Linked DNA regions of Homo sapiens: region 1 is linked to region 2. The links are contacts of gene promoters, found by promoter capture Hi-C in human tissues and cell types (Jung and others, 2019). All regions are on one chromosome and are shown on one strand. The core of a region is centred on a gene start or on the middle of the fragment in contact, and the rest is flanking DNA. Distances in the headings are between cores, read along the strand shown. Region 1 overlaps RERE (arginine-glutamic acid dipeptide repeats). Region 2 holds the start of SLC45A1 (solute carrier family 45 member 1).

Evidence for each region. The method cuts DNA at HindIII sites, captures the fragments that hold promoters and counts their contacts. A contact is called where the count stands out against the background at its distance.
Region 1: a fragment that was not itself captured here is called in contact with the fragment with the promoter of SLC45A1 in region 2 in 2 of the 25 tissues and cell types used here (hippocampus and pancreas).

Annotation. Positions count from the first base shown.
Region 1 is chr1:8,564,426-8,570,549 of GRCh38, reverse strand. The region is part of intron 4 of RERE (arginine-glutamic acid dipeptide repeats); the gene reads left to right. Among named protein-coding and RNA genes, the nearest start is that of SNORD128, 73 kb to the right of the region's middle. The HindIII fragment of the contact is 3,600 bases long and covers 57-3,656 here.
Region 2 is chr1:8,314,516-8,320,922 of GRCh38, reverse strand. It overlaps SLC45A1 (solute carrier family 45 member 1), which reads right to left and starts at 2,809. Exons shown (of 9, transcript NM_001080397.3): 1 at 2,737-2,809. RefSeq lists a silencer at 2,700-2,979. The HindIII fragment of the contact is 6,823 bases long and covers 1-5,809 here.

The DNA.
Region 1 (6,124 bases), core at 607-3,106, 250 kb before region 2:
TAGATATGGGAATCTGTTTTCTTATTAAGCCAGAAGTAAAAGAGATTTGCAGAAATAAAAGTGTTACTCATTTCCTACATTATGTTCGTTCTAAAAATTATAGTTATTTGTTATAATTATTTATGTTAACACGAGCATGTAGTGGGTTTATTACTGTTATTAATGAATTCATAAATTACAAAAAAATTTATTTTTTTATTTTTATTATTATTATTTTTTGAGATGGAGTCTCACTCTGTCGCCAGGCTGGAGTGCAGTGGCGCAATTTCACTTTCACCTCCACTTCCCCGGTTCAAGCAATTCTCCTGCCTCAGCCTCCTGAGTAGCTGGGACTACAGGCACGAGCCACCATGCCCAGCTAATTTTTGTATTTTTAGTAGAGACGGGGTTTCACCATGTTGGCCAGGATGGTCTCGATCTCTTGACCTCGTGATCCGCCCGCCTCAGTCTCCCAAAGTGCTGGGATTACAGGCATGAGCCACCGCACCCAGCCAGAAATTTTTTTATTTTTAAATACAGTAAGTACTGATAAGCTATAACCCATGTTCTTTGACTCTTTAATAATTTTTAAGAATCTAAGGAATCTTGAAGCTTAAGATGTTTGAGAGGTCCTTCTGTAAAAAGTGTATTGAGTCAATAAAATATTTTCTTTTTTTTTAAGACAGGGTCTAGCTCTGTCACCCAGGCTGGAGTGTGGCAGTGCCATCATAGCTTATTGCAGCCTTTAGCTGTTGGGCTCAGGAGATCCTACCGCCTCAGTCTCCAGAATAACTGGGACTACAAGAGCATGACACCATGCCTGTCTAATGTTTAAATTTTTTGTAAAGGCAGAGTCTGACTTTGTTGTCCAAGTTAGTCTCAAACTACTGGGCTCAAGCGGTCTTCATGCCTCTGCCTTCCAAAGTGCTGGAATTACAGATGTGAGCCACTGTGCCCAACCTCAAGGAAATATTATCATGGTAGCTCATCATCGGTTTTTAATTGTAAAATCTCTGCCATGTATCTTTAATCATAAGTTGGTAAGTCTTACTTATAAAATAATGTGATGTTAAATAATGTGAGAAATTCCCCACCCTTTCTTTGACATCCTGCTCATTACCGCAAAGTCTGACCCCACCATTGATGTGTGGTTGAGCTCTGTAACTTTTCTGGCTATGTCATGTGTAAGAAGTCATTAATTCCCTCCAAATGAATAATATCACTGCCATCACCGCCGTCACCAAACAACAACCAAAGTATTATTACAAAAATGTCAAATTTTGTGATATTTGTACTCTTTTTTTTTTTTTTTTGCTTTTAAAGAAATTTAATGGACTGTTTAAAGCTTTAGTAGGGATTAAGGGGGAATTTGACAATTTCTTATTACACTCTCTACGAATAGCTATTTTTTTCTTCCTTTATGGGAGAAATCCTTTGGACCAAAGAGAAAATTTGTGCTTCAGAATGTTGATCTGATAAAACCAGAGCTGCTGGGAGAATACTGTTTAGAATGGGATTCATTTTTGTGTTTGGTCAGCAGATTTTGGAGGTCCAAGGGTAGGATTTTAATTTATCTGCGAAATTTCGTCTTGCCAAATTGACCCTTCAAAACTGAACTTTTAAAGCTGAATCTGACATTTAGTATTTGTCAGTGTATTAGTCAGGGTTCTCCAGAGAGACAGAACCAATTGGCTGGCTGGCTGGCTGGATAGAAAGATAGACAGATGGATAGACAGACAGATGAGAGGGGATTTATTAAGGGAATAATAAATCTCACTCCATCATAGAAGCTAAGTCCCATGATAGCCATGTCTTAGTCTTTTTTTCTGAATACCTGAGACTGGGTAATTTATAAAGAAAATAAATTTATTATAGTTCTGGAGGCTGTGAAGTCCCAGGTCAAGGGGCTGCATCTGGTTGGCCTCTGGGGAGGGCTTTGTGCTGTGCCATAATGTGGTAGAAGGCATCCAGGACAGTAGGGCTCACAAGAGAGAGCCAACCTGGTTTTTATAAGAGACTCACTCTTGTGATAAGTCGTTAACCCATGAATGCATCAATGAATTAATGAGTTATCAGGCTCCTTGTGATCTAATCACCTCTTAAAGGCCTCACTTGTTAATACTGTTACATTGGGGATTAAGTTTCAGAATGAGTTTCTGAGGGTGACAAACATTTAGACCATCGCAGGCCATCTGCAAGCTGGAGATGCGGGGAAGCTGATAGTATGGCTCAGTTCAAGTTCAAAAGCCTCAGAACCAAAGGAACCTATAGTACAACTCTGTCTGAGGCTGAAGGCCAGAGAGCCTGGGGGGCCGCTGGTGTGAGTCCTCAGTCCAAAGGCTGGAGGACCTAGAGTTCTGATGTCCAAAGGTAGGAGAAGAAAGGTGTCTTAGCTCTTGGAGAGAGAGCAAAGTCTCCTTTTCCCTGCTTTTTTTTGTTCTGTTCTGGACCCCAGCCGATTAGATGCTGTCCCACCTACATTGAGGGCAGATCTTCCCACACAGGCTACCATCTGACACACCAGTCTCCTCTAGGAACACCTGTACAGACACACCCAGAAATAATGCTTTACCAACTATCTAGATGTCCCTTAATCCAGTTCAGACACCTGATATTAACCCCACAGTCAGGTTGAAGTACATTGTGGGATACTTTTGGGGAGCTACAGAAGTGCTCTTTAGTTTGCTATGTCTGTCCCTATCTGCTAAGTCCCCTTGACGTACAGTTTATCTCTGTGTGTGTGTGATATTAAGGACAACAGAGGTCATCTAGTTACCCAGCCTTGTAGTTTACAGATGAGGGCAAGAAGTACAAATATTCCCAAGGTTTTACCTGTGCTTAGTTTTGGCCTCTCTGCTACAAACAAATACAAGAATGAATTGTCTGAAAATTTCAGTGTTCATACACAATATAATCCTAAGTAGAAAATCCTTAATGAGTTTTGACTCCTTAGCTAGCATTTCAGAGATGATTTAGTTTTCATGCACTGTTTTAGTTCCTACCAAAATATTGGTTGATTTTTCTCCATATTAAAGTGTAAAAATAATTTAACAGCGGCAGAAGTTTAACAAACAAGGCATCATCAAGAAACAGTGGTTTTGAAATTATTGCCCATCATCTGAGCCTGTGCTTCAGTACATTCATAGTTACATCATCTTTCTGAGTGTTTGTATGTAGCCAGTTATTTGTATATCTTGATTGTAAACACTGTGAATAGTCATCTGCCTTCCTACCATTCCCCCTTCATGCTTCAACATCTGATAGAAGGTGATTTAAATCCTTTCACACAGACCCAGATGCTGATGTTATCTCTTGACAACAGTCTTTTGAATTGAATACCACTCATAGGTTTTGAAAATGAGCCTCTAACCTTGATCCTAGTGCCTACAAGCAGTAAGCAGCCTAGTCAGATGGATGTGGCCATGGTCTTCTATTTCTTTCATCTACTTAACTTCTCTTTAAAAATTCATTATGCTAGTTCTGGCCGGGTGCGGTGCCTCACACCAGAAATCCCAGCACTTTGGGAGGCCGAGTCAGGCGGATCACGAGGTCTGGAGATCAAGACCATCCTGGCTAACACGATGAAACCCCATTTCTACTAAAAATACAAAAAATTAGCTGGGTGTGGTGGCACATGCTGTAGTCCCAGCTACTCAGAATGCTAAGGCAGGAGAATTGCTGGAACCCTGGAGGCGGAGGTTGCAGTGAGCCGAGATCGCACCACTGCACTCCAACCTGGGTGACAGAGTGAGACTCCGTCTCAAAAAAAAAAAAAAAATTACTATTCCAGTTGTGAGCAGATCCCTCCAGAAGTCTGCTATATATTGGATGTACCAGTAGTTCCAGGTATACCCATTTGGAAATGCTAATAAATGTGATGTTACCACCAACAGGATTCTGTGTCCCATTTAATTTTTGTTTTCAGGTTTTTTTTTGTTTGTTTTTTGTTTTGGAGACAGAGTCTTGCTCTGTTGCCCAGGCTGGAGTGCAGTGGTGCCATCTCAGTTCACTGCAACTTCCGCCTCCTGGGTTCAAGCAATTCTCTGCCTCAGCCTCCCAAGTAGCTGGGATTACAGGCGGTCGCCACCACACCCGGCTAATTTTTGTATTTTTAGTAGAGACGGGGTTTCATCATCTTGGCCAGGCTGGTCTTGAACTCCTGAACTTGTGATCCACCTGCCTTGGCCTCCCAAAGTGCTGGGATTACAGGTGTGAGCCACCACACCCAGCCCAGGTATTTTATTTTGTTTTATTTTTCCTCTACCTGCCCCTTGTTTTAAGGTATTTTAGAAATGGGAGTTGTGTGGCCACCTGAGGGGAGCTGTGCCACAGCCGTGGTCCTTCCATAGGTGGATTCAGGCCCCACTGAGAGTGGATGCAGAAGACGACCCTGTGGATTTTTAGGTCTGTTCAGTTCCAGCGCTACACTAAAATACACCAAGGTTGGGAGAAGGTGTTCCAGGATCAAACAAGAGTGGATACTTTATCAATGGCAATAAGAAATTTACTTGCGAGGCCTCACTCTGCCCTCTCAAAATGAAACAAAATGTTTAATGACTCAGTGCATTTGGGAGATGTGTATAGGATGGTGTAATTATAAAGTATATTCAGTCCTTTCTTTCTCCTGAGAAGAGTCTGTGGAGTCAGTATTTCAGTTTTTCCCCTTACCCACTGGTCCCCATGTCAGAGCAGAACCCTGGGATACATGAACCTTGATGGCCTGAGGCCTGGTGGTATACTCTGCTTTAGGTTTTTCTATACCTCTTTCCTGGCGTTTTGAGCTGTAATGGCTGTAAAGTTATATGGATAATATATATAGATATGTAAAATTCTTAGATCCTTTTTGTTTGTTTGGTTTTGAGACAGAGTTGCGCTCTTGTTGCCCAGGCTGGAGTGCAGTGGCACGATCTCCGCTCACTGCAACCTCCACCTTCTGGGTTCAAGCCATTCTACTGCCTCACTCAGCCTCCCGAGTAGCTGGGATTATAGGCACCCACCACCACACCCAACTAATTTTTGTATTTTTAGTAGAGACAGGGTTTCACCATGTTGGCCAGGCTGGTCATGAACTCCTGACCTCAGGTGATCCACCTGCCTCTGCCTCCCAAAGTGCTGGGATTCCAGGCATGCGCCACGGTGCCCGGGCATTCTTAGAGTCTTATGTTAAATAGGGTAGAGGCTTGAAATATTACAAGATATTTCCTATCTAATTTCATTTTTAAAATTTCATTTTGTTGTAAGCTGACAACTTATAATTGTATATATGTATGGAGTACAAAATGATGTATGATTCATTAATACAATGTAGAATAATTCAAGCTAATTATCATTTTTTATGATGGCAACATTTGAAATTTACTCTCTTACCAATTTTGAAATGTACAATACACTGTTATTAACTATATTAATCATGTTGTGCAGTCGATCATTTAAAAAACCCAGTTATTCTTCTTTACTGAGATTTTGTACCCTTTGAGCATTAGCTCCCCATTCCCCCCACTGCCCAGCCTCTGTAACCACTTCTCTTCACTTCTGTGAGTTGGGTTGTTTGAGTCCACATGTAATAAGCACATGTGGTATTTGTCTTTCAATTCCTGGCTTATTTAACTTAGCATAATATTCTCCAGTTCAATTCATGTTGTTGCAGATGACAGGAGTCTTCTTTTTAAAGACTGAATAGTAGTTTTATATATATATATACACACACACACACACACACACACACACACACACACACATACACATATACACACACATACATACACACACACCACATTTTCTGTCTCCATTCATTGTTGATAGGCACTGAGGTTGATTCCCTAACTTGTTTATTGTGAATAGTACTGTGATAAACTTGGGAGTGCAGGCTTCTCTTTGACAAACTGATTTTAAATATTTTGGTAAATTCACAGAAGTGGGATTCCTGGATCTAATTTCATTTTAATTGAATTAAATTTAATTTCAGATATTTATCCATGAAGTTGGGTAACTATGACTGGTACAGAAAGCTTATCTTTAGTTTTGATTTACCTGTGTAAATAAATACAGGTTGGGCATCTCTAATTTGAAAATCCATAACTTTTTGAGTGCTGACATGATGCAGTAAGTAGAAAATTCCACATCTGACCTTTGTGACAGGCTGCAT
Region 2 (6,407 bases), core at 1,560-4,059:
ATCTCCCTTTCTGTCCCTCTGCCCAGCCTCTCCCCACCTGCAGGCACACAGGCATATCTCCCACTCTTTCTAATCAGCATTTTAACCATAATGTGAACTTAAGTGCATTAGAAACCTTCCCTTTAAATTTGGAATGAAGAACTGTGGCCCAGTTTGGAAAAACTTCAGCTTTAAACAGCATATGGCAGGTGTGTGTGTGTGTGTGTGTGTGTGTGTGTGTGTGTGTGTGTAGAGAGAGAGAGAAACAGAGAGAGAGAGAGAGAGACAGACAGACAGACAGACAGACAGAGTCTCCCTCTATCTAGCCCAGGCTGGAGTGCAGTCATCATCGCTCAGTGCAGCCTCAACCTCCCTGGGCTCAGGTGATCCTCTCACCTCAGCCTCCCAAATAGCTGGAACTACAGGTGCACACCACCACACCAGGCTAATTCTTGTATTTTTTTGTAGAGATGGGGTTTCGCCATGTTGCCCAGGCTGGCCTCAAACTCCTGGGCTCAAGTGATCCACCTGCCTTGGCTTCCCAAAGTGTTGGAATTACAGGCATGAGCCACCATTCCCAGCCCCTGAAGTGTCTTTTTGAAAAGAGGAGCCTCTTTGACCTTATTTAAAGTGGACTATGTAGACGGCCCACTTCTCTACCTGCAAGAGGACAACTCTACTGCCACCTCCGCCACACCCCACTGCAGCCTGTCCTAGCAGAAGGGAGATCCTCACACACTCAATGAACTTCTCTCTAGCATCTGAACCAGAATTAAACCTAGCTTAATCCTGGCTCAGAAGAAGTCTTTACTAAGGATTCATCTTCAAATCTGGGGATCAGCATTACCATTTTTATTAAAACTACATTTAGTAAAAACTGTTCACAAATGTTTATCATAAGAAGAATTTTAGAAACTCATTTTTGAGACCGGGCACAGTGGCTGACGCCTGTAATGCCAGCACTTTGGGAGGCCGAGGTGGGTGGATCACCTGAGCTCAGGAGTTCGAGACCAGCCTGGCCAACATGGAGAAACCCCGTCTCTACTAAAAATACAAAAAATTAGCTGGGCATGGTGGCGAGTGCCTGTAATCCCAGCTACTCCGGAGGCTGAGGCAGGAGAATCGCTTGAACCCAGGAGGTGGAGGTTGTAGCGAGCTGAGATCGCACCACTGCACTCCAGCCTGGGCAACAGAGTGAGACTCTTGTCTCAAAAAACAACAACAACAACAACAAAAATCCATTTTTAAGGTTCCCATAAAAATGGGTGAAAGTGGAATTTAAGATCATAAAATCTAATTTTCATGCACAAATACAAACATTCGCCAGACCATCTTTACTGTACCATATGACCATTTACTCGGTCAAAAGGAAATCCACTCATCTCCCTGGATCCCCCGAAGGCTATGCAAGGGGTCCACTGTGCTTCCAGAGTACAGAGGATGCTTAAAGTAACAGATTCCTCAAACTGTGTTGTGGGAAGTTTAAGCGGCAAATGATTAATAAAAGTAATCAATGTCAATGTAGTTTGAATGCTTACAATGATCCTACTACGAGCGGAAACCATTTCCTCATTTCTTTCTTCTCGTTATGAAAATGAGCTCCCCCCACGGGGTTGCCTTGGGCCACCTCCCTTCCTAGGGCGTATTTGCTTATTTGTTTATTTGAGACGGAGTCTCACTCTATCGCCCAGACTAGAGTGCAGTGGCATGATCTGGGTTCACTGCAACCTCCGCCTCCTGGGTTCAAGCGATTCTCCTGCCTCAGCTTCCCAAGTAGCTGGGATTACAGGCATGTGCCACCACGCCCGGCTAATTTTGTATTTTTAGTAGAGATGGGGTTTCACCATGTTGGCCAGGCTGGTCTTGAACTCCTGACCTCAGGTGATCCACCCGACTCAGCCTCCCAAAGTGCTGGGATTACAGGCATGAGCCACCGCGCCCGACCCCTCATGCTTCTTTCTACCCATTCTCAAAATTCTTCAGTGAGGTCCTCCAGGACCAGGAAGGTGCTCTACGGACTTGGGAGGGTGCACTTAATAGGCTAGTTACTGAATCGTGGCCGTTTCCCACTTTGCATCTCCGGCAGCTTGACCCCTACTCCAGGGCCAACTTTTCCCAAAAGCCCAGGCCAGGTGCAGCCTGAACGTGGCTTTCCTCCGCCCCTGACTCTGCTTCCCTGTAAGAGCTGAAAAACATGCACGGCTGTCACTCTAGAAATAATTAGAGAAGTTGCTGATTGTCGAGGGCAGAAGGAGCTGAACGGCTTCCACCTCAGCGCGTTCCCCTTGGTGCTGACTCGCTCGGGAAAGGGGAGTCCTCGGTGCCCTCGCTAAGTAACCCTGGGATGCTGAGGGGCGTTGCCAGGCCCCTGGTCAACAAGAGGGCTCAGCCCCACGCAAGAGGTGAGCCGGGAGCGGATGACACCTGCCCAGGTGACTAGGGACCAGGCCTCCGGCTCAAGGAGCGCATCAGGAGCTGGGGCCAAGGCCGGGGTCTCCTCCCCTTGCCAGCAAGGATGAGAGCACCTGCCATCTGGCCGGCACCCTCCCCTGGGCCCGAGGCTCCTGCCCTCGGAGGGGCGAGACGGGGGAGCTCCGTGGACTCTGCAATTCATGAGACTTCCACGAGGAACAAAGGTCTCCGTGCCGGCCTCGGGTCCCGGTCTCGGCGCCCTGACTACCCCGGGGCCCAGGGCGCGGCGCCCCGGCAGGCACGGAGCCAGAGAGCGGGCGGAGGGCGCGGAGGAGACGGTGGTACCTGTGGGTGGAGACGGCAGGCATCCCTGTCCCCGCTGGGCTGCTGCCTGCCCGGCCGCGGTCCCGGCTGCTGCAGCATCACCCGGGGCGGGGCGCTGACGTCACGGCCGCAGCCTCCGCATCCGCGCGGGGCCCGGAGCCTTAAAGCGGCGCCGCGTCTGGGGCCCCGCGGGCGGGAGGGGAGCCCGGTGTCCTCCTGGGCCCTTCCCGCGGGAGGCCCGTCCCGGTGCTTCGCGCACGACGGCGCGGTCTGCAGGATCTGCCAGGATCCCGGAGGAAAACGTCCCCCCGGCCTCACAGTTCTCACCGTTTTCTTCTGATTTTAAAAGAAATAAATACATTTTCGTGTCTTCATGTATAAATAGATACCCATGTGTTCGCGGATACGTGAATGCCGCAGTGCGTGTGCCAAGCCTGTGCCCATGTGCGCAGTGGGGCAGCCGGGCCTGCTGGAGGCGTCGCGACTCTGGGCCCGGAGCTGTCCAAGGCACTGGGGATGCCGCAAGAACAAGGCAAAGTTCCCGCCCCTGGGGGAACTTTGTAATGTAAGTAAATACATAAATACTTTATGTATTTATTATTTACTTCATTTTTTAAAATACAGAGAGGCAGGGCCTTGCTATGTTGCCCAGGCTGGTCTCGACTCCTGGGCTCAAGTGATCCTTCTGCCTCGGCCTCCCAAAGTACAGGTGTGAGCCACCGCACCCGGCTGCATGACATTTAAGAGAGAGACACACACACATTAAACAAGACATAAAATAAATGGTATGTCAGAAGATGGCAATGCCCTAGAGAAGGGGTTAGGGAGTGTGGGGCTGCAGAGGCGCTGGCCTTGCAGGTTTCTATCAGGTTGTTGGCGAGTCCTCACCTGGAAGGTGACACTAGAAGGAGGATTTGCGGAGCAGGCCGGGCACGGTGGCTCACACCTGTAATCCCTGCGCTCTGGGAGGCCGAGAGGGGCAGATCACCTGAGGTCTGGAGTTCGAGACCAGCCTGGCCAACATGGCAAAACCCCCATCTCTACTAAAAATATAAAAATTAGCCACACGTGGTGCTGGGTGCCTGTAATCTCAGCTACTCAGCTGAGGCAGGAGAATCGCTTGAACCTGGGAGGCAGGGGTTGCAGTGAGCTGAGATCGTGCCACTGCACTCCAGCCTGGGCCACAGAGTGAGACTCCATCTCAAAAAGAAAAGAAGGACCTGAGGAGCTAGGGGGGCCAGCCAGACTGACGTGTGGGGAAGGTCACGCCAGGCACTGGGAAGAGCAAGTGCAAAGGCCAGGGGCAGAAGTGAGCTGGGCTGAGTCCAATAATTACGGATGAAATAATTATGCAGCTGGTAGTGGAATAATAACCCCAGGGAAGCGCTGCAGAGTGGGGGCACGGGGCCCTGTGGAAGTTTACCGCGGCGGATTCCACCCCATTGGGAGGGTCGAGGGCTCCTCAAGGAGCCCTACCAGGCCAAGTAGAGAGAACAGCATGTCCCACACAGAGGGCTCAGAGAGCTCTGCACTGGCAGAGCTCCGGAGGGGAGAGGGCCTGGAGGCACACTGCAAAGGAAGTGGAGGGGGACAGGGATGCAGAGGCCTGGGAAGGAGGTGAGGGCTGGGGAGGTGGGACAGGCCCAGGTGTGGCCTCTTAGGCAGTTGCCAGTTTCTAAGAGCAAAGAGAAGCCTAGAAAGGTTTTATGTAGGGGAGTGGATGGCATGAATCCTATTCACAGTTAGCAAAGATCATAAAGCTCAGAGTGAAAACAGATTGGAGGGAACCAGGGGACCACATGGGCGTACCGGGTGGCACAGGTGGGAGAGTTGGGGGTGTTGGTAGAGGGAGAGAGGTGATGGACTGGCCGGGGACTTAGGACTCCATGATTGACTGAAGGTGGGGGGGTACAGGAACAGCGAGGGTGGTGCTAAGAAGTTTCTAGCTTGAGCGATGAGGGAAGAGAGTGGATTCATGGAGGCCAAAGCAGGTGTGTGCTGGAGTGAATGCCATAGGTTTGCTTTGGGATATGCTGAGCTTGAGGGCCTTCGCAGCCTCTAGGCCACCAGACACTTGGGTCTGGAGCTCAAAGATGCTCCTTTATGAGTCCCCTGCACATGGGAGCTAATTGCAGGTGAACTGTGGACCTCGCACTGCCAGGGAGAGGCGCAGGGCAGAGGGCCCCAGAGGACACCATGGGAATTTCAACAGATCCTGCCCAGGCTGAAGAGAAGGAGCCACTGGAGGGGGCTGGTTCTGGCTTCTTTTATCTCTATAACAGGGTAACAGCTTGAAAAAAATACCGATGTCCTTTTCTATTTTGCATGCAAGTGGCCTGCCATCAACTGATGAGCTTCAGCACCTCAGGGACTTAATGCAATAGAAGCTTACTTCCACATGAGGTTGGCAGAAGTGTGCCTGATGGGTGGGGACCTCTGTGAAGCCATTCAGGGATCCCGGTTGCCTCCATCTTGCTCTGCCCTGGTGCACTGAGGGAGGAGCCCAGGTGGTGCCTGCCCACGGGGCCAGGTGTGCAGGAGGCCCACGTTCCACTCGAATCCCATTGGCTAGGACCCTGCCACACAGCCACACCGGCCACACCCAACCCACAACAGGGCTGAGAGATGGGGCCCCTGTCCCCAGGAGAGGAGGAGATGGGGGTGGGGAGTTGCTGGCTTCAACTGCTTCTGTAACTTTTAGCTGCTTGCAGAGGGGAGAGAAGATGGGGAATGCTGAGAAAACTTAAAGATCATCTCGAGGTTCTGATGTTCACAACGGGATTTTGCAACAAGAGAAGAGGTTTGAAATCTAAGCATTGTTGAGAAAGAAAGGGATTTTGAAAATTCCTTTGACCTTTTTTAAACTTCCAAAGTGAGAACCTTCTAAGGCTAGAGCTTTTGCTTTTTAGCCCCTCCAAGTTCAGGGCAGAGAGCAGTGTTTCTCCCTGGGGGCAGACAAGATTTCTCCTGTCTCGACAATAGGTCTAGACTGGGGGCCAGAGTGGAAGGGGCTGACAGAACATGCAGGAAAGACAAGAGACGCTCGCCCTTCCGGTCCTGGGTGTGGGGGAAGGATGGCAGAGGGAGGAGGGAGAGTGAGGGGGAGGAAGGTGCTTGGGGTGCATCCCAGCTCCTTTCTCCCTGCGCCTCAGCCCTGTCGTGGCAGAGTTTGCTCTGGGCAGAGCCCCCGTACACCAACACAGCGGCCGCAGCCCGGCTGGGGGATCAGAACAGTGGGGGCTCTAATTTGCCCTGTGAGGCTCTTGTGGCTCCCATTCAGTGCCTGGATGCAGAGCTGAAGCTGCAATGGCCCCGTGGGGCTGGGACATGACGTGGGGTGGGGGGACCCTCAGCCTCACTGTGGGAAGGACAGTTGGGCCAGGTGGCTGGGTGGGGGGACTTTGGCAGAGAGACCTGGAGGGGTCTACGGGGCCAGCCAGGGCCCCAGGGAAGCAGGAGCCACACCAACTCCACGCCAGGATCTAAGGAAAACAGGGGACTGCTGCAGCCCTGCCACGTACACGGGGACCGGCAGGCAGCCAGGAGGACACAGGAGCCCCATCCACTGCCCCAGCCCAGAAAGGAACAGAGGATGGAGACAGGACATGCACAGTGTGAGCCTAGAGAGACCCAGTCGGACCCAGAATAATAGGCTCCAACAGTGCAGAGGAGAGCTGGTGTGAGGCGGTGGA